3 separate regions of the Homo sapiens genome follow, and regions 2 and 3 are each linked to region 1. Evidence: promoter capture Hi-C in 16 types of primary human blood cells and fetal thymus (Javierre and others, 2016). All regions are on one chromosome and are shown on one strand. The core of a region is centred on a gene start or on the middle of the fragment in contact, and the rest is flanking DNA. Distances in the headings are between cores, read along the strand shown.

The links. The method cuts DNA at HindIII sites, captures the fragments that hold promoters and counts their contacts. A CHiCAGO score of 5 or more calls a contact.
Region 2: a fragment that was not itself captured here is called in contact with the fragment with the promoter of TCF12 in region 1 in 1 of 17 cell types (fetal thymus); the score reaches 9.2 in fetal thymus.
Region 3: a contact is called between a fragment that was not itself captured here and the fragment with the promoter of TCF12 in region 1, in 4 of 17 cell types (activated CD4 T cells, naive CD8 T cells, non-activated CD4 T cells and 1 more). The highest score is 6.8, in activated CD4 T cells.

The regions. Positions count from the first base shown.
Region 1 is chr15:56,917,385-56,920,221 of GRCh38, forward strand. It overlaps TCF12 (transcription factor 12), which reads left to right and starts at 1,260. Exons shown (of 21, transcript NM_207037.2): 1 at 1,260-1,522; 2 at 2,508-2,604. The coding sequence starts at 2,530. TCF12-DT (TCF12 divergent transcript) reads right to left here and starts at 1,115. Exons shown (of 4, transcript NR_015419.2): 1 at 156-1,115. RefSeq lists silencers at 420-559, 1,080-1,209, 1,380-1,429, 1,520-1,809, 1,860-2,299. The HindIII fragment of the contact is 11,533 bases long and covers 1-2,837 here.
Region 2 is chr15:56,649,338-56,652,194 of GRCh38, forward strand. The region is part of intron 19 of ZNF280D (zinc finger protein 280D); the gene reads right to left. Among named protein-coding and RNA genes, the nearest start is that of ZNF280D, 83 kb to the right of the region's middle. The HindIII fragment of the contact is 4,877 bases long and covers 1-2,857 here.
Region 3 is chr15:57,207,529-57,210,228 of GRCh38, forward strand. The region is part of intron 8 of TCF12 (transcription factor 12); the gene reads left to right. Among named protein-coding and RNA genes, the nearest start is that of SNORD13D, 70 kb to the right of the region's middle. The HindIII fragment of the contact is 5,108 bases long and covers 1-2,700 here.

The DNA of each region.
Region 1 (2,837 bases), core at 10-2,509:
AGTAATCTAGATATGATTTAAAGTATATGGGGAAACACACCATTTTTATGTAAGAGACTTGAACATCTTAGAAAATCCAGAGTCTGGGAACCAATCCCACGGATATAGAGACAACTGTACTAACTACAGTAATGGCATATGGTAGCTGAATCTACCTCTCTTTCCATCCCAGTCCGGAATCCAAAGGCTCCTTCTTGCCATGTTGTCCTCGGGCGTTGGCTGCTTCCTCCCATTTGTTACTTTGGAAGTGTCTTCTTTCCTCAGTGTTTCTTCTGCGTGGGCCTTACCGGTCTTTACTGCACTCACTTACCTAAGAGGCAAAACAATGGCTGCCATTCAAGAAAATCTCACTTCAGCCCAGAATCGAAGAACTGGGGCTTATTTTGTCTTCTTTCTACTCTGGGGCTTCTCTGAGGCCAAGTTCAGAACTTGTGCACAAGACAGTGGCTGTGTGACAGAGCCACCCAGGGCTGTCTCCGTTAGATGAAGAGACTGGCTTGATCCATTCCCAAGAACTAGTCCCACGTGCAGTTCGGTTGCTCCGAATGGGATTTGGGTGCGAGGGGCTGACTGGAGATGTGGGGTCTGGGTGAGTGGGGTATTTGAGAACCTGAAGCTCACAAGGCTTTGTCTGGTTTGAGGTACGTTTTGCCCTTTCTCCCGCATTCGGCTCTGCATCGAATCTGACCGGCCGCGCCTACTCTCGGAACGGCCGAGGAGGATGGGTCTCCCGTCTCCACACGCGCGGTGTCTGCGCCGACTGCAGCCCTCCTGGACGGGAGCCTCTGGGCCCAGCTTAGGGTGGCGTCCAGCGTGACCTACTCGGGAATGGCAGCCTTCAGTGTCCTGCGGCCTCGGGTTCCGGGAAGCTCGGGGACCTGGGCAGCGGATCCAGATGCTTCCACAGCTGTGTCTCCGTCGCTCCGCTTCGGGGGCCGAGAACCAGCAAGACCAACGCGAGGAGGCGCCACGGTACCTGCCACCCCGCTCCCAGGAGGCCCGGACGAGGCTTCGTCGGCGAGCGGTCGGGGCCTGCTTCTCGAGGTGCCTGCGAGCGCCTCATGCCCCTCCCCACCGGCCCCAACTCCGTCCCGCCTCACCCGACCGCGGGCTTTGTCCACCCGCCGCGGTGCGGCTCCTCCCAGTCCCCGACAGCTCCTCCCCGCCCCCTCTGCCGGCCCCACTTCCTAGGCGGCGGAGCGGGTCGGGGAGGGAAGGGTTAACCCGCGGCTCTTCCCGGCGCGGAGGGATCCGGAGGCGAGCCGAGCGCGGTGGTGAGGCCGCCTCAGCGAAAAAAATGTCCGCCTGAAGAGACCCACAAGTTCTATTCGGGGGGACCGACAGCCCGCCCCGGGAGGAAGGGGCGGCCAGGCCCGAAAGCCGCCTCCCCCTCCCAGACCCGAGAGCTCGTGCGGGGCAAAGTGAACCGAGCCGCTGGGCGGTGCAAGGGGAAGCCCAAGCCCGTTCTCCCGGCCAAAGTGAACTTTAATCGGGGTGGTTGGATGCGGAGACGGGGCGGCAGGTAATTGCGGGCTAGCGAGCGGGAGTGGGGCGGCGCGGCGGGGCTGGGGGCTGCGGGGCGCCGCCGCGTCCCTGCCGGAGTGGGGGCGCCCCCGTCCCCCGCCTCAACTCCGCGCCCCTTTGTACAGCGCGAAACCCGGGGTCCCCTCCAAGTTGGGGAGCGGAGTGGGGGCGGAGGCTCGAGTCGCGGGCGCTCAGGCCCGCTGGCGGCGCGCTCGGCCTGTGCGCCCCGTTCGGTGCCCGACTCGGGCCGGCGCCCAGGCTCCGGGGCGCGCGGGAGATCGGGCGGCTTCGGCCGCGGAGCCAGGCTCATTGTTCGGCAGGTCCGGGGCAGGGCAGCAAAAGTGGGAGGAGGCCGAGCCTGGGGAGGAGGACGCCGGCCGAGAGCGAGACTAGTTGTCGGGGTTTCTGTTTTCTGTTTAAAAACGCCCCTTGGATGAGCTGGGGGTGCTTTCCGACCTCCTGGGCCCGCCGGGGACGTCCGGGCGGCGGCGGCCGCAGACGCGGGCCTGCGAGCGGCGCGTTCCCTGCAACTTGTCAGTTCTATTGTTGCCGAGCGAGTGAGTCACTTCGCATCTCCGCTCGCCGCCGCTCCGCTCGCTGGACGCCGAATTGCCCCTCACCCCGCTCCTCGAGACCCCAGCCGCGGCCGGGCCCGGCGCGCGGAGCACCCGGCGGCGGCGCGGAGCAGGGGGCGCCGAGGAGGTGGCAGAGACTGGCTCGGAAACTTGGGGGAGAGGCGGCGAGTTGCGGGAGCCGCCGCGTCGATCTCGGGCCGCGGCGAGGAACGCGTGGATTCCGGGACCCGGCGCGGGCACTGAGCCCTCCCGCCCCTTGCTCGCGCCGCGGTGGGAGCGAGTCGGGGTCCTGGAAGTCATCCCGGCGCCCCCAGCGCTCTTGCGTAATCTTCCCCAGTACCTCTCTCTGTTCCCTCACACACTTTGGGCCTCGGTGGTCTCTCGCTGAGCCCGTTTCCTCTGCCCTAGGACCTGCTAGAAGTGGCCGAAGATGAATCCCCAGCAACAACGCATGGCCGCTATAGGGACCGACAAGGAGCTGAGCGACCTACTGGACTTCAGTGCGGTATGAGAGCTTTCCATGGCATCTTGGGGTTCTGCTGAGGTTTTTGTTTGTTTGTTTGTTTGTTTCTTTTAAATAAAGGGTGAGGGGAAGCAACGTGGAGACTAGGCAGCGTGAACTCCATCTGCTTTCTGCTTAAGCAGTAGTTCTCAGGGCTGGAGTCCAGCTCCCCCAAGTTGGACACCTGAACTTTGATGTAATGTCTAGACTTGCACATTTAAAACTTTAATGCCAGA
Region 2 (2,857 bases), core at 288-2,787, 270 kb before region 1:
ATTTTTCCATCTCACTGGGTCTCAAATTCTCCCTGCTTACCAGATATCAAAGGCAGAAGTCCAAATTGCCAGAAACCACTTGCAATTACATACCAGGAGCAAATATATTAAGTCTATTTTGAAAAGGAAGAACTATTTTACAGTTCCTAAAGATCGGTTTGAGATATTAATGTCTATGGTAGGATGAGAGAATCTAGGGGCTAAAATCCCGGTCACATTTCAAAAGTTTAAAGAAGGAAACAAGCCCAAAATGAACTCAATAGATCAGTTTGTTTTTTTTTTTTAATCTTGCTAAATTAATGAAATGAAGTCTCCCAACAATTTTGAACACATAAGAGCTACAGAGTTATAATTTAGGATTATGACCAGAGCCAATAATTCCTCCAAGTAAGTTCAAAATTTCACAGGAAAATAATGGAATGAACCCTTATATATCTTCAATGGTCACAGGTTCAATGACAGTAAGTATCTCTTAACAGAAATAATATTTTAAAATATAAGATTTATAGAAAAAGGCTGCCATTCTGTTCCTAAGAGTTTACTTACTGCTTACATTTATGAAAGATAATTAATGACTTACTGGTTTGAGAATAGCAGAATAAAGTGCTATTTCACCTTGAGAATAGGTCCAGATTCTCTTCTGATACAGCATTTCACAAAAAAAATCCCATAATGCAATATATACATGATATTAGTGGTTTAATTGATTATGAAATCAGTTGACTATAGTCCCTGTAAAAAATGTGGATTCAGTGTCTACATTTCTAATTCCCTTATTCTGTAATTGCTTTGGTGCTATAAACCATGTTTTATTCATGTTTCCAACACCTGACACAGAATCTTGCACACATAAAAAGTAGGGTGTCAATGTTCAGTGACAAAGAATATATGGGAAGGTTGTCTATATCATACTGTGAATGAGCCATGTAGTTACTACTGGTGCTAAGTATAAAGCTCATTAAATTAGGGGGATTTAATAAAGTATAATACACACATTAACATCTGTAAAACACATTTTACATATTTCTAACATCTTCAAAACAAAGATATTTTCAACTCGATTTCACAGAAAAAGAAACTGAAGTAACTGTACCTTAAATAAAGTTAGTGAGGCAGCTGGGTCCTTTAACTCTAATATTTTGACTGTCAATGTCTTTCCCATTGTACTTTGCTTAGAACAAACATGGATGTCACTCAGAGAACTAAATCAACTTTTAAAATCTCTTGAAATTGTGGCTTTTAGGATATTTGATTCAACAATAAAATAGGCAACCAGTTAAGTAGCCTAGTTTAGCAAACTTGAGTTATTATGTATTTACCACAGATTCTTACACTCTCAAGATCTGTTAGAGGAAATTATCATTCTATTCTCAACTTTTTGTCAAGAAAAAGAAACTTACAAAACTCAAACCTTTACTTCTATTTTGTTATAATTCATCCATCCAGGTAGATATACAAGAAAACAGAGGAGGGGAGAAATGGAGGTAAGGGAGAAACAGAAAAGAACAATTTCATGACTGAGTTTGACTTTGCCTGTTTCATGTCTTCACTCAAATGTCATCTCTCAGTGAGGCCTCACTAAATTAAAAATGGCAGCCTTCCAACACCTACCCCATACTCCTTTATCACCCTTCTCTGATTCATATTTCTCCATAGTATTGATCATCATCTAACATATTATATGTTTTATTTACTTTTATTGTCTTTCACAAATATAATGTAAGTTCCATAAGAGCAGAGATTAGTCTATATTTCTAGAAACTAGGACAATGCCAGGCACAAAGTAGATGCTCAATAAATATTCGCTGAATAAATACATGATGCCCAAAGAGGCAAAGTGTTTTGCCAAAATGTGACAAAAACAGGGCAAGAATCTGAGCCTCTGTAGTTTAATAATTATTTTTCTAAGAATGATGATGGACTCAAACTGAACCAATCACATATTTTATTCAACAGTAACCAAAAAGCACATATGCATGAAATGGCTATCTGACCAGATGAATAAACTAGAATAAAATGATGGTAAGGAGGGATTAGACTCAAACTAAAACTCATTAGCACTAAACTGAAAATTCAACTAATTGCTTACAATAAGCAAACTTTGTACTGACTGCCAAGTGTTTTATTTGAACCTTTTTTTAAAAATGAATTTACTGGGAAAGAACTTTAAGAATTCATACTTTAAGAAAATGAATTTGATACATACTATAAAAAAAAAGTCTATGTAAGACCACAAAGCAGTACAGTCATTCCCTGGTATTGGTAGGGGATTGGTTACAGAACCTGCCCCCACCCCACAGGTCGCCCCTACCTCCCCAAACCTCCACCAGGAATAACAAAATCCTCAGATGCTCAGATCACTTATACAATGTAAATGCTATGTAAATAGTTGTTATATTGTATTGTTTTTTATTTGTATTTTTTATTGTTATATTGTTATTTGTTATTGTTTTTCCCCCCAAATATTTTCAATCCATGGTTGGCTGAATCTGCAGACACAAAACCCAAGGATATGAAGGATTGACTGTACTCCTACATTACTATATTAACAATGTGGTTTATCCTGCTTTTGACCTATGACCAAGGTAAGGTGAATATCTGTAAATGAACTAATGTTAAAAATGGAAAAAGTTATTGTTTCTGGATAAACTTTTAAAAACTGGGTAGAGAGAGGAGATAACAAAAATTCCTAGAGACAAATAAGAAAAAAAAAAAAACAACTAGTATATCACTAAGTCCACTACTAAGAAACAAACTACTTGCGGAGATTTTGGAAAACCTTTCACTTAAAATATAAATTAGTTTGGAAATTCAGAACTATTAGATTCAACTCTTTTGATAATTAATTGCAAGAAAC
Region 3 (2,700 bases), core at 199-2,698, 290 kb after region 1:
GGCATGGTGGGGCATGCCTGTAATCCCAGCTACTTGGGAGGCTGAGGCAGGAGAATCACTTGAACCCAGGAGGTGGAGGTTGCAGTGAGCCGAGATAAAGATCACACCATTGCACTCCAGCCTGGGCAACAAAAGTAAAACTCCGTCTCAAAAAACAACAACAAAAATAATAAGTAAGAACTAAGAAAACTTCAAGTTTTCTGACTTGAGCTTGACAATTTTTTAAACTGTCAAACTCATCATTATTTGAAATCATGATTTTCAGTATCTTCTCCAGTAACACAAAAGATATTTTAAAATTTCAAAAATCAGTAACTTAAATGAGATTTAGAAAACTTATTTGCTACTAGTATGGGCTCCATCTAGTAGATTCCCAGTCAGGAGAATATGAATCCCTTCTGTCAAAATCAACAAATATATACTAAGTCCTTATCGTGAATGAAGAACTATTTTAGACTTTAGGGATTTAAATATGAATAAAATATGGACCCTGACTTCAAGATTCTTTTTTTTTTTTTTTTTAAAGACAGAGTATTGCTCAGTCGCTCAGGCTGGAGTACAGTGGTGCGATCTTGGCTCACTGCAACTTCCACCTCCCGGGTTCAAGCAAATCTCTGCCTCAGCCTCCTGAGTAGCTGGGATTGCAGGCATCTGCCACCACACCCAGCTAATTTTTTTGTAATTTTAGTAGAGACGGGTTTCACCATCTTGGCCAGGCTGGTCTTGAACTCCTGACCTCGTGATCCACCCGCCTCAGCCTCCCAAAGTGCTGGGATTACAGTTGTGAGCCACCGCCCCTGGCCAAGATTCTTATAGTCAAAAGATAACCTTGTTCTTTGGACAAAAATATCCTTTTTTTTTTTTTTTTTTTGGAGACAGAGTCTCACTCTGTCACCCAGGCTGGAGTGCAGTGGCATAATCTTGGCTCACTGCAACCTCCACCTCCTGGGCTCAAGTGATCCTCACACCTCAGCCTCCCGAGTAGCTGGAACTACAGGCAAGTGCCACCACAACTGGCTAATTTTTGTATTTTTTTTGTAGAAACAGGGTTTCATCTTGTTGCCCAGGCAGGTCTCGAACTCCTGGACTCAAGCGATCCACCCACCTTGGCCTCCCAAAGTCCTGGGATTACATGCGTGAGCCACTGCACCCAGCCTGGAAAGAAAGAACTTAAAAAAAAATTTTTTTTTTTCTTTTGAAACAGGAATTCAGTCTGTGGTCCAGGCTGGAGTACAGTGGTGCCATCATAGCTCGCTGCGGCCTCAAACTCCTGGGCTCAAGCAGAGAGGCAGTCCTCCCACCTCAGCCTCCTGAGTAACTGGGACTACAGGCACATGCCACTACACCTGGCTACATTTTCTATTTTTTGTAGAAAAGAGGTTTTGCTGTGTTGCCAGGGTTGGTCTCAAACTCCTGGCCTCAAGTGATCCTCCCATCTTGGCCTCCCAAAGTGCTGGGATTACAGGTGTGAGTCACTGCGGCCAGCCCAAAATGTTTTTTGTTGCATAATTGTTGTTCACCAGGCACATGATGTAGTATTTAGGAAATGCTTTTTGAATTAAAGGGATAAAAATAAGGACTACAAGGCCATTATTTTATGTATCTATAATAGGAAACATCACCTGTTAATGACTTCCTGCTCTAAGCTGTACTTTTTAACTTACTTCTCTGATTGTTCAAACCTTCAATATGTTAACTGGCCTTCTTTGTATAAGAAACTGAATTATATGTCCCATTTCTCCCTTCAATTATGCAGTTAATTCCTAGTTACCAAAATAGGAGCATTTTACCAAAACCAAAACAGAAAGCAGGAAAATTACAGGTAATTCAGCCATCAGCATTAATTCTACATTGTTTTAGGATGACCTAATTAAAAATATAGGGCCATGGTCCTCACGCGAAAGAAAAGTATGGAAAACAACAATACAGGAATTATTTTTCTAAAGGAAATAAGTTACGGTTTCATTGACATAAATTTGAAACAGAGGACAGTCTTATATTTCTCTTACTAGAATTCTCTTCAAGAATTTAACCATTCGTGGTCACCTGTGTAGCTATCATCTTTGTCTAAACCACCTTTACCTCTTTCTTAAATTATGGCAACAGCTTTATAACTGGTCTTCCAGTTTTATTTTGTTTTTATTTTTAGACACAGGAACATCCTTTTAAAATCTAGGTCAGATCATATACTCCTCTGCTTAAAATCCTCCAGTAGCTTCCCTTATTATAAAACCAACATCTTTAAAATGGCTTATAAGACACCTGCCACCTTTCAGACTTCATCTTCTACCACTCTGCCCCTCCCTTACTTCACTCTAGCCATACTCTCCTTTTTACTGCTTCTTAAAGATGTCAAGCACACTCCTACCTCAGGGCCTTTGCATTTGCAGTTTATGGAACACACTTTCCCTCGTATCCAAATGGCTAGTTTTCTCTTTGATGTCATATCACACTGTCAATGAAGATCTTTTGTGACCATCCTATATAAAAGGGCAACATACCCCTAGTACCTCCTCACTCTTTTCCTGATGTATTTTTCTCTACAGTACTTCATACAATCTGATATGGCCTAATTCGTTTATTCTTTATCTGTGTTACCCAGGAGCAACATAATAAAGCAGGGATTTTATTTATGTTGTTTATTGCACCTGCAGCACAGAGGTGCATAACAGATACTTAATAACTATTTGTTGAATAAAT